2 separate regions of the Homo sapiens genome follow, and region 1 is linked to region 2. The links are contacts of gene promoters, found by promoter capture Hi-C in human tissues and cell types (Jung and others, 2019). All regions are on one chromosome and are shown on one strand. The core of a region is centred on a gene start or on the middle of the fragment in contact, and the rest is flanking DNA. Distances in the headings are between cores, read along the strand shown. Region 1 overlaps FERMT2 (FERM domain containing kindlin 2). Region 2 holds the start of FERMT2 (FERM domain containing kindlin 2).

The links. Contacts are between HindIII fragments. The study calls those that stand out against the background at their distance.
Region 1: a fragment that was not itself captured here is called in contact with the fragment with the promoter of FERMT2 in region 2 in 3 of the 25 tissues and cell types used here (liver, mesenchymal stem cells and mesendoderm cells).

What each region holds. Positions count from the first base shown.
Region 1 is chr14:52,880,381-52,886,919 of GRCh38, forward strand. FERMT2 (FERM domain containing kindlin 2) reads right to left here. Exons shown (of 15, transcript NM_006832.3): 5 at 864-1,089; 6 at 656-758. The region is part of intron 1 of LOC105370500 (a long non-coding RNA gene); the gene reads left to right. Among named protein-coding and RNA genes, the nearest start is that of FERMT2, 67 kb to the right of the region's middle. RefSeq lists enhancers at 3,519-4,044, 4,045-4,570. The HindIII fragment of the contact is 9,630 bases long and covers 1-6,539 here.
Region 2 is chr14:52,948,335-52,954,690 of GRCh38, forward strand. It overlaps FERMT2 (FERM domain containing kindlin 2), which reads right to left and starts at 2,716. Exons shown (of 15, transcript NM_006832.3): 1 at 2,587-2,716; 2 at 2,078-2,243. The coding sequence starts at 2,234. RefSeq lists a silencer at 2,485-2,694 and an enhancer at 3,415-3,993. The HindIII fragment of the contact is 21,614 bases long and covers 1-6,356 here.

The DNA.
Region 1 (6,539 bases), core at 3,091-5,590, 66 kb before region 2:
AAAATGAACTTTGCCAATTCTTTTTTTTGTTTGTTTGAGATGGAGTCTTGCCCTGTTGCCCAGGCCGGAATGCAGTGGCATGATCTCGGCTCACTGCAAGCTCCGTCTTCCAGGTTCAAGTGATTCTCCTGCCTCAGCCTTCCAAGTAGCTGGCATTACCAGCGTGTGCCACCATGCGTGGCTAGTTTTTGTATTTTTAGTAGAGACGGGGTTTCACCATGTTGGCCAGGCTGGTCTTGAATTCCTGACCATGTGATCCGCCCACCTTGGGTTCTCAAAGTGCTGAGATTACAGGCGTTGAGCCACTGCACCCGGCCTAAACTTTGCCAGTTCTATAGTACCAAAAGAGTACCTTTAAAATACAAATCATGACACTCTAAGAGCTTAGAGATTAAAAAAAAGATAAAACCAAATCAGCCAAAAGTTTCATTATCTTAATAACAACAATAAAAAGGTTTAGTTATGCTTCCAACCTACTAAAATAGACTTATTTAAAATACAAATACCTTTGCCTAAAAGTTTGGGTTTTTAATAATTATTCAAGATTTCCTATATACAAATAATTCCTTATTCCACCGACTTCCAAAAACAAACATCCATGTGAACAAAACAAATTAATGGGGAAAAAAAAAAGATCCCTTTAAACCCTCGGTACCTTTGGATTCAAATCAAAAAAGCTGTAATACTTGAATCGGAGCAGCAAGGCCTCATTTTCCTTCACATCTTGTTCCATGAGAGATCTTGAGGAATCAAGCCATCTGGACAAATTAAGAACAGTGGAACAAAACAACACAGAATGAAGACAATATTTCTACCTCTAGCTGGATGAAGAAATTCAATTTTATCTATATCTTAAAACTTACCCTTGGTTGATTTTTGCTTTATCAAGAAGAGCTTGAGGCTTGAACATTTTTGCCAAGATTTCTGGTGACGTGATTGGTTGACTGACAGCAAGTATACCAGGATTGCCTTCTGACAAAGCACTGTCACCAAACCAAGCAGAAGTTGGTGACAAGGGGCTTCCATCATGAGCATCATAAGTGGGGGTCATTGTTTTACTATACAGTCCTGGGCTTGAATATATACTTCCTAATAAGTAACATGAAAAACAGGTAGTAAGTATGCAGTACAGCATCTTATTTTTCAATAATAACACATATTATGATATAAAGCACATTGTGAAACAAAAGTTTTATTCTGAAAGGAAAGCTTAGTATATTATTTTACCTGTTATGAAAACATGTGTAATTAATTCTCCTTGTATAACATTAAAACACGTAATAAAGCCTTAAGAATATAATTAAGTTGGCAGAAATTCTGGGGAAAAAAAATCAGTTCAAGAGAATTAGAAAATAAGGATATAGCTGAAGCAGACAGACCAACACTTTTTGTCTTTAAATTGTGGCAAGGCTCACCTTTCAGAGGGCCAATGTAAAGAACATCAGTGCCTATAGGAAAGGAAAGAAAGGAATTCAGAAGGTAAAGGAAAGGCCACAACAGAGGACAGAAACAAAAGAATGAAAAGAAAATGAGAAAAAGAAAAAACAGATTTTCCCTAATTGTGAATCATAAACTGAAGTACACATTTCAAGTGGATTTCAGAGTAAAGAACCTTAGAAGCTACAACCTAAGTAAAACGGTTTTTTTTGTTCAATTTAAAAGAATGAAGTTGTGCTGTAGTCAAGTATATAGTGACAAATATGTCTACAACTTTTACCACCATTTGAAATCCATACAATTTGAAGGTAACACAATAGAACTGAATTCATATAGATTAAGAATAATTTTATAGTAAAGTCTTCTCAGTGAATAAACAGGTTTCAACAATTTTACAAATAAAGTTTTTTTTAATTTTTAAGTTCTGGGGTACAACAAATAAAGTATTAATGTAAAAGGGGAGATAAAAGTCTGCCCTAGAAAGAGTCTAAACAGAGATATATTTAATAGTCAAATCTCAAAAGGAAGGGATATTGCCTTATTTATCTTCTGATTTCTTAGTATTAGGGCTAGACATATAGTAGAGGTTACGTAAATAACAATTTGTTACATTAGTCAACAGATGGTATGTGCTCCTTTATTTAAACTACAAAAATTAAGGAGATGAATTTAAGGCATCTAAAAATGTTCAGAATGACATTAAGGACAAGCAGCTCCCCCAAGTCCTAGCTCTGTTAAATTATATTTTGTCCTGTTGTCATAATTTTTCAAAAGAAAATGTGCAATGGGCATAACACTGTTAATGTAAAGAAAATGGCTTTTCCATTCCCTAAATTTAGGGTTAAGCTTAGAAATCCATCTCCTTTCCTACTATTTTTAACTCTTCTCCCCATGCAATGATAGAAACACTGCCTGTGAAAAAGTGGTGCTAATGCTAGAGATTTTTGTAGCTGTCATGACCTAGTCTAGGAAGCAAAGTTAAAAAAAAAAAGTTTTTACTGAAAATATGTAATCTCTTGCTGGACACAGGATATTTGATTTTATGTCCCTGACATGTGTTCTTCCAATGTTAGTACTAAAAAAAACCTGTAAAATCTAGGCCAGGTGTGGTGGCTCACTCCTGTAATCTCAGCACTTTGGGAGGCTGAGGCGGTTGAATCACTTGAGGTCAGGAATTCGAGATCAGCCTGGCCAACATGGAGAAACCCTGTCTCTACTAAAAACACAAAAATTTGCCAGGAGTGGTGGTGCACGCTATTCGGGAGGCGAAGGCTGCAGTGAGCCAAGATTGCATCAATGCACTCCAGTCTAGGCAACAAAGCAAGACTCTATCTCAAACAAACAAACAAACAAACAAACAAAAAACCCTCTAAAATCCGAACACTGTTAATCCTAAAACACAAAGCAAAGTTGTGAACTCTTTATCAGCATTTAAAGAATACTGGGATCGTTAGTCCTGGGGCTTTAAAAGCTAGATCCTTAAACTAGACAGGTATTTTTCAAACTTAAAATTGTGTGACACCTTTTGAAAGGACTAATTGGGCACCCCACACTTATTAAATGTGCTGAACACATTACTCCAACTCAGTTGGGCAAAGGGTATTTCTGCTACAGAGTGTGCATGTAGATAAAGTGTGAAAAAACATTAACTTCTAGGCAAAGTCTTGTTTCTTTCAAAGATCTATTAAATAAATCTGTTACGAAGAATGTCAGTATACTGAAAATGTGCACCTGGTGAGATTATAATTTCTATCCAAAACTGAGTCAAGTTAGAATGGACAATTTGCTTTATAAAGTTTCTAATATAGAAAAGATACTCCCCCTAAATCACTGATATGGTTTGGATCAGTGTCCCTGCCCAAATCGCATGTCTAATTGTAATCCCCAATGTTGGAGGAGGGGCCTGGTGGGAGGTGACTGAATCACAGGGGTGGAGTTCTCATAATGGTTTTGCACCATCCCCGCTTGGTACTGTATAGTCAGTGACTTCTCATGAGATCTGGTTGTTTAAAGTGTGTGGCACCTCCCCACTCCCACCCCTACCTCCTGTTCCAGCCACGTGAAGTGCTGGCTCCTCCTCCGCCTTCCGCTGTAATTGTAAGTTTCCTGAGGCCTCCCCAGGAGCTGATGCCACCATGCTTCCTGGACAGCCTGCAGAACTGTGAGCCAATTAAACCTCTTTTCTCCTAAGTTACCAAGTCTCAGGTATTTCCTTATAGCAATTCAAGAATGAACAAATACAATCACACATTTAATAGAATCAGCCACCCACCCAAATCTGCGTTTCAACTTCCTATAGTTTGTATCTTCTTCAATTCATACTTAATCACTTCGTTGTTCTTATTTGTTCTGTAGGCACTATGTGATAATAAACTCACTTAGCGTTCACAACAACTCTATTATTCTCACTTCAGAGGAGCAAACTGAGGCAAAGCAAGGTTAAATAACTTGTCCAAGGTCAAGAGCAAGTAAGCTGCAGCCAAGCTATAAATCGGCCAGTCTGGGCAGGCGCGGTGGCTCAAGCCTGTAATCCCAGCACTTTGGGAAGCCAAGGTGGGCAGACTGCCTGAGGTCAGGAGTTCGAGACCAGCCTGGCCAACATGGTGAAACCCCGCCTCTACTAAAAATACAAAAAATTAGCCAGGCATGGTGGCAGCCTGCCTGTAATCCCAGCTACTTGGGAGGCTGAGGCAGGAGAATCACTTGAACCCGGGAGGCGGAGTTTGCAGTGAGAGACTGCACCATTGCACTCCAGCCTGGGTGACAAGAGCGAAACTCCGTCTCAAAAACAACAAACAAAAAAACCCCAGCCAGTCTGGCTGTAGGGCTACACACTGCCTCCATGTACTATAACTTACGTAAGCCATTCCCAATTGGTGTGCACCTATTTTTTAAAATTCTGTTACTGTAAGGTGGCTCATGCCTGTAATCCCAGCACTTTGGGAGGCCGAGGCAGGCAGATCACCTGAGGTCAGGAGTTCAAGACCAGCCTGGCCAACATGGTGAAACTCTGTCTCCACTAAAAATATAAAAAATAAGCTGGGTGTGGTGGTGCACGCCTATAGTCCCAGCTACTTGGGAGGCTGAGACAGGAGAATCGCTTGAACCGAGGAGGTGGAGGTTGCAGTGAGCAGAGATTGTGCCACTGCAGTCCAGCCTGGGTGACAGAATGAGACTGTGTTTCGAAAAATAAAAATAAAAAAATAAAATTCTGGCCAGGTGCGGTGGCTCATGCCTGTAATGCCCGCACTTTGAGAGGCCAAGGCGGGTGGATCACCTGAGGTTAGGAGTTTGAGACCAGCCTAGCCAACATGGTGAAACCCCGTCTCTACTAAAAATACAAAAATTAGCCAGGCATGGTGGCATGCTCCTGTAGTTCCAGCTACTCAGGAGGCTGAGGCAGGAGAATCGCTTGAACCCAGAAGGCAGAGGTTGCAGTGAGCCAAGATCACACCACTACACTCCAGCCTGGGTAACAGGGCGAGACTTAGTCTCAAAAAAAAAAAAAAAAAAAAAAAAAAATCTGTTACTAATGTCATTATTGCAAACCAATGCTTCAACAAACATTTTTGTAGTTATTTCCCAATTCTAGCAGCACTGCTGGGTCAGAGGGTATGGGTATTTTAAATTCCTTCATCGTGGTTCAGAGACAATCCCAACTAAGTTGTTTTCTTGAATGTCTGGTTTAAAATGCATCTGAGGCAGCAAACTAGTAAAGTGTAAGATAAAGTAGCAGATTTAGCAACAAAATATGAGCTTACTAAATGACATGGAAAGATAACTTAAAAACTCTAAGGGGGAGAAATAGAGTTCAAAAAGCACTACAGTCTGAGTCCACCTACTGTAGATATTTAAAACCCGATATAATCAAACAACTCCTAAATATTGCTATATTTTAACACAGTAAAATTTACCTAACTTATTATAAATTGTATATTTTTTAAAAAGAGTACTAAAGTAATACATTTTAAAAAATTTTCACCAAAATACCTATCTTATACCATATTTTATCAAAAGAATTTTTATGGTATTATTTTTATATTTTTGGAGAAAATTTTCCCAAGCAAGAGTAAACCTAGAACTATAAAGTAAATGGCTAACAGATATAAGACCACATAAAAATGTAAAACAATATGGTTTTAAAAAAAAAAGGCCACAAACAAAATGCCAGTATATAAAGGGAAGTAACACATTAAAATTTTAATATCACTAAAAGCAAAAATATAAATAAAATAAAGAATCTATCATTTGAAAATTAATAGAATATAAATGGCTAATAAACATATAAATTATTCAACTATCCTAGTATTAGGGAAATGCAAAATAACCGAGATACTACTTATTGTCAAACTGGCAAAAACACAGATTTACAACATTCAATATTGAGCAGAATGTAGGAAATGGGGCATTTTCATGTACTACTGATGGAAGTATAAACCACAGAAACTCTTGGGGGGGAGAGAGAGAGAGAGAGACAGACAGAGTGTGTGTGATATAATGTATAGATATATATGTATCTACACATACATGTATTTTTTTAGAGACAGGGTCTTGCTCTGTTGCCCAGGCTGGAATGCAGCAGTGTGACCACCCAGGTTGAACTCCTGGGCTCAGGAGATCCTCCTGTCTCAGCCTCCCAAGTAGCTAGGACTACAGGTGTACACCACAACGCCCAGCTCTGGGATATATGTGACAGAAAAATTAGATACCACCTAGGTAGAAAAACAGGTAAATATACTTTTTCTATAGGTAAAACTCTGAAGTCATTTATAAGAACTAGGGAGACTTCTCTGCTTTGACACAAATCACTAAAACACTGATCACCAAAAATCAAATTGCAGAGCATAAAATATATATTAGGATCTCATTTATGTTATTAAAATAAGACTAGATGTGCAAATTTTATACCCACTTGTGCATATAAACACACAGAAACGGTACTGTCAAGTTGGACTCCAAACTTACAACCTCGTTATATGTAGTAATCAAGAAATGGCTCCCTCTTGAGAAGGAGTAGCCAGGGAATAAGTTTAAAAGGAACTCACCTTAATTTTAATACATTTTTTATATTACTTGAGTTTATGATAAAGAGACTGTATTCA
Region 2 (6,356 bases), core at 1,466-3,965:
TAAATGCTGCCCTACCGAATCTCTCCTCTATTTACTTGCTGATAGGCAACGAAATAGCTTACCATTCAAAGCATCTAATCCTAAAAACCAAAAGCATCACTTAGCTCTACTTTTACCAAACAGGAAAGTCAGAGGCACTTTCTATTTGGAATTCAAAATATAAGAGGAATCAGTATGAATTCAGTTCAGAAAAGATGTAAGGTTTCCATACGCACAGCATTTCCTACCTTGTTGGGCTTCTTTTCTCTGCATAAAAAATTAAAAATGTATCAGCATTAAAAGATTAAGATTATAGTCATTTAAATTAACATCATTTCTGTCTGCAGTTTATTCTCTATATTTCTATTTATTACTGTGATTCTATAATAAACAGTCCTAAGCAATGCAAAATAAATATAGAAACCATTATTTATTCATTAGCTACAGCCTGGCTTTCGAGAACTACAAGTTGTCTCAGTCACCTTCAACAGCTCCTTTTTTTGCAATATAAAAAATATCTCCTATTGAGACCAATGTATTAATATGGTCCATTTACCATAAATTAGAAAAGCTCTAACAAAAATGCTTGTTTTCTTTGAAAACAAAATATCCAAATATTTGCTATTTTCCTTCTTAAATAATCTCATACCAGAGCTGGACAAAAAAGGTTCATACATATTTTGCAAACAGTGACTGATTTATTCAAATCAGATAAAAATACTGTTAACTGCCAGTTAAATGGTTAATCAATACAGCAAAATCTAATTTTCACTGGGCTACCTAGGAGGATTTTCTTTCCTGAGCTGTATCTCAGGGAGCCAAACAATGCAGTCTTAAGGAAGAGGCTACCTTGTAAGGAGCTTCACTTTGGTCCTTCAATAATAAAACTTCCTGCAGGGGTACAAAGCAGGTCCACCCAAATGAATCCTGCCTTATTTTGCAAAATGCATCAGAGTGCTATTTCAGTACCTTTACATACAATAATCCTTTGGTAAGAAATAGATTTCCTGACAAATAAGCACTTCTCTACTTTCCCAGTGTAGCTTGAAAACGAATGCTGTGTTTAAAAAAAAAAAGAAAAAAAAAAAGACGAAAAAAACCCCCAGAAAGTCCCCAACCCCCCTTCACCAAAACAAAAAACAATTCCAGCCTAAAAAGACAATGCCACACAGATAATCATCTTATCACAACTGTATTATGTACAAAAGGCTCTTTAAAGCTCAGGAAGATAGTTCTCTGAGCATTTCTCTTATGATCAAATCATCTATTTAGCTGACTCTTCCAGATGAAAATGGTTTCATTCATCACAAAAATGTGTACTGCACACTCTTCACACACTTCATACTGTAAGATACCTTATTATTTTAAATCGGATATCAATCCAATACATATTTGTACTCAAGCAAACACCGTCAACCTCAAATTAGTTTAACAAAGTCTGCTTTTTAACACAAAGTTCTTTCCTTGGCTTGTTATTAATATAAAACCGAACGCTCGAAACGGCTTACATCGAGCATGGACTATGGATACCAAGTTTGTCAAGCACTGCCCCACCCCTAGTAAGAGTGGATGACTGGAACATTTTAATGCACTCCACCACGTAGAACAGCCACAGAAACTTCACACTGGCGCCAGTAGTTGCACATTTTCCAGCACAGATTTTTCTTAAATGGATTTTGCATCATTCTCTATACCAAACGTCACTAACATTCAGGTATGCTGAAGACATAGATAACCACGGACACTGTAATATCACCCTCCCAACACACTTTCCTCATTCTTTTATCGTTCTGTCAGTAAATGTTAAGAATTAACGAGTTCCCCGGCACACATCCCCCGTCCCGCGTAACTACGCAATTAAGGTTATAATTGGGAGGCTCGAATCATTACATATGAAAATTCAGAGAATAGCAAAACAAAATAAGACGCAAAGGGGAACAGGTCTATCTGCTTAAATACTGAAAGATTTTACATCTCCAAAAAGCATTTGCGAGATGCCAAGATTTCTCAAATGGGCCCCTCCCCCGTCGTGAGCCTCTTTCCTCCCCCTACCAATTCTGGGAAGTCATTAGTTGGACGCGGCTGGGATGCTACTCACCGAGTTTCTCCACCAGCTTAAGCATCACGCCTCCAATGTGCACCTCGCCGGTCACTCTCAGGGTGACATCGCGGTTCAGGTCCGTCACATGGACACTCAGTTCCCACGTCCCGTCCGCGTAGCAGCCATCTGGCATCCTTATCCCGTCCAGAGCCATGGCTCCTTCCTGCGAGCGCGGAGGAAATGGCTCTCGTAAGCGTCACTCCCCCAAAGAAAGGCGAATCCCACCGAATTCGCAGCGCCGGCCACGGGCTGGGAGGTGGTGGAGGACCCGGGGCTTTCGGCAGAAACTCGGGAGGGCGGCGGCGGCCGGGGCTGCGGGAGGACCCTACGCCCCGCTCGCCCCGCAGCGTTCCTCGGTCCCGGCGCCGCCCGCCCCACACCGTCCCCGCCTAGCGGACCGCGGAGGGCTTCACCTGCCGGCCGGCCCCGAGACACAGCGCGGGCTGACTCCCCGTTCCCCTCCCCGCCGCGCCCCCTCGGGTCCCGGCGGGGTCCCGCTCCCTCACCGCGCGCTCCTAGCGCTCCGGGCCCGGGACTCGCGCGGCAACAGGCGAGGGGCTGGAGGCTCGCGGGGCGGCGGTGTCCGCGTCCGGTTCCTCGGCTGGCGAAGCGCTGCCTGTGGCCGGAGCGGCTAATGGAGTCCCGTCGTCGCGGCCCCTCGCCTGGCTCCCCGCGCTCCACCCTCTCCCCGCCCCCTCTGTCCGAGCCTGGCTGGGCTGGGCGCGCTGGCTCCCTCCTTCGCCGCCCGCAGAGCTGCCCTGAGCGGGTCCGGCCGGCCTCGCCTCTGCCCCCGCCCTCCCGGCGCCGCGCTCGGGGGAGGGGGCTGCGGGTCCCGGGCGGGGCGGGGCGGCGTGGGGCGGGGCGGCGCGGGGGTGGCGGGGGGCGCGGCGGGGCGGCAATCTCGGCCCCGCGGAGCGCTGCCCTTTTATGGAAATGAAGGACCCGGCTCAGGAATTGAATCCAACATCCGGGCTCTAGGCGGCGGGCCCTGAGGAGGGGGAGCGGGGGAGCGCGGGCGGCCTTTCCCGGGGCGCTGGTGGCCGGCGGGGCGTCTAGAGCTCAGGCTGGACTGGGGCCCCCGCGGCGTGTGTCCGCGCTGGCAGCAGGGAGAGGGGGCTTGTCCGTGAGAAACGGCCCCAGGAAATTCCCAGGGCAAGGTCGTTTTCGGAGAACAAAGTCCTCTCGCCCCCTCCCCACGCCTGCAGCGAGACAAAAAGCCTCAGGGAGGTGAGAGGTGCCGCACCCCGGGAGCTGGAGAGAGGAGTCTGGGACGGAGAAACTTTAAAAAGTAAATGCCCAAACCAACTCCTTGAATGTCCTACAAAAGAATAAGAAAACCCCGAGGGAGGTGAACCACAAAAATTGCTTTGCAAGCAATGTCCGGCACCATCAGCAACTCCTACTGGACTCCCAGGAGTTTGCAAGCGTTCTTAACCCCTTCGGACGCTCCAGCCAGATGCCAGTCAAACAGATGATGCTCTTGCCTGAGGGGAAAGGAAAGACACAACCTAGTGCCACAGGTTTTACTCAGAAACTGTTTCCCCAGCTTCTCCAGCTCTTTGTACTTATTTGTGTGTTTTTATATGCAAGTTAGAACTAACAGTCTATTAAAGCTGTTAGATGGAGATACATGTTCCATCCCACCCTCAGCCACACCTTGGATTTTAATACTTCTGGAACGGTGCCTGCAGGTACCAGGAAGAGCTAAACAACTTCACCTGTTGAAGACTGGCTAGTGATGGGGAACGGTCCTCCTGCTTCCCGCTTTTGTTTCCACTTCCCCCATTAACTGTTGTACTCTGTTGAGGGAACTCCTTTCAGAAACAGCAAACCAGAGAAACTGCCTCGCTAGCAAATTCATGGGCTCAGAAAATAAACGTCAAGAAGGCTCAGATTAAAATACCTTTTAAAGATAAAAGACTCCAGTTCGCAGTCTCATAATCTTGTCGAATTGTCTCAAACGCTTGGAAAAGGAACTCGCTAGGCAGATAACCTTTTGTTCATTAACATTACTGGGAAACAAGATGAGAGGCCTCAAGAAAGGGGTGGAACTCAGAAAGGAGTGAAAGCAGCAAAATTTAGTCAGATGCCAAAGGCTTGGCAGAAAAAAAAATAGGGAAAACCACTACAGTGTTTTTAGCTAGTTATCATGGAGAAATTGATGCCTTCAGTCTCTTATCTGTCTACTCTCCAATATTTCTACTCGTGGACGTTCCAAATAGTTCACTTGAAAGCAATATGAATGTCCGGAGATGAGGGAGTTTATGTAAATTATGGGGTTGAAAATATACAGGAAAATGTTTTTAATAAATTAAGGAATTGCTTGTTAGGGCACAAAACTGCAGAACTGGATATGCAGCTATAAAATTAAGAGCTTATTTACGTTAAATGTTCAGAGAAAAAGACTGTAAGGAAATACAGCAAAATGTTAAGAAGCTCTCTGGGTCTTGAGATCACGGAAGTTTTTTCTTTCTTTTATTCTTTATTTTCTGCCAACTCAAAAACTTTACACCACCACCTAGAATTGCATCCAGCATTTCAGTTTCTCTGTACATGCCATGACATTCACGATGATAGACACTGGATACAGCAGCTACTGACTGAACGATGGACAGGATTTTCAGAGGTTTCCTTTGGTGTTTTTTAAATAGTTCTAAAGAAAACTTGAGTTCTTTAAGAGCAGAGATTTCAAATTATTTTCATTGTCCACAAATTCACAATAGCTTGGTACAGAGAAAATGGAAAACATGCTGGTGTCAAACCAACACAAATGTCAAAGAAACAGTGGGTCTGTTCCATGGAGAAATCTCAGGGGCCAGGTACAGTGGCTCATGCCTATAATCCCAGCACTTTGGGAGGCTGAGGCAGGAGGATCACTTGAGCCCAGGAGGTGGAGGCTGCAGTGAGCTGTATTCACACCACTGCCCTCCAGCCTGGATTGATCGCAGAAAAACAAAAAACAAATCTCAATGGGAAAATCCCCACTTTAAAAATATACTTATTTATTTCCCCCACTTTATCCCCCAAAAGATTTATGGCAACGTATAAGGATGCATAAACTGTGAGATAGTATACATTATAAGTGGCACAAAACAAGAAAAAAAAGGTGGGTGGGGATTGGGAGGCTTAGAGGGGTGGAGTAGAGATTTATTTATTTATTTTGGAGTAGAGATTTAAAATGGAGCTGGGAATGAAGCTAAGAATTGTATCTTATGACATTTGCACATGCTCCAGTAAGCTACAAAAAAATTATGGCTTTCTAAACATGCCTTTCTAGAACCTAAAATATCTATGCCCTTTCTGAATATTCCCTTTCCTTCAGACAAAATTGTTGAAGCCAACTGTCATGGTTTAGAAACTCTTTTAATACAGATGGTCCCTGACTTATGATTTTTTGTTTATGACGGTGTGAAAGCGATAGGCATTCAGTAGAAACCGTACTTTGAATACCCCTAGGACCTTTCTGTTTTTCACATTCAGTACAGTATTCAATAAATTACATGAGATAGTCAACACTTTACTATAACATGGGCTTCATATTGGATCATTTTGCCCAACTGGAGGCTAATGTAAATGTTCTGGATACATTTAAGATAGGCTAGGTTAAGCTGTGATGTTCGTCGGTAGGTTAGGTATATGAAATGCATGTTTGACTTACAATATTTTCAATTTACAGAATGTAACCTCATCATAAGTTGCAGAGCATCTGTACTCGGTTTCCAAATTCTAGTTATTTTCCCACTTTCCAGTAAGAGTTACTTTCTGAACACCCCCACGACAGCACCGACTGCTCTAACTACCGTGCTTTCCTGAATCCACTTCTACGAATGTTCTCTACATTTAGTGACAGAGAGTGGGGGTGGGGAATTTTAATATTGTGAATAACTGCCCTATTTCTTAACATTTGAAATCGCTTGAGTATAGCTTCATAAGACACTTTACTGGCTTTAGAAAGTCAGCAGTATATATTTGAGCAATTAATGCACAGGAAGGCAAGGACCTTCAGTTAAGTACCAGTGGAAGAATAATTAGATTAGGTTGGGTGCAGCTGATCCCTTCAGGCCTTCTTTTTGACTATTTCAAGCTGTCACTTGCTTTGAAGATTAAAGAGGAGTCAGCCTCACCTCTCTGAAACTGGGATTTTTTTTTTCCAGTTTATCAAGTGACGCTTTCAAGTGCATTTCTTAAATATTCACTTCTACCTAAGATTTAGAATGTATTCAAATGTAGACTCTTATCTGAAATCCCCTGCTAGAACCACTAGGACAATGCAATG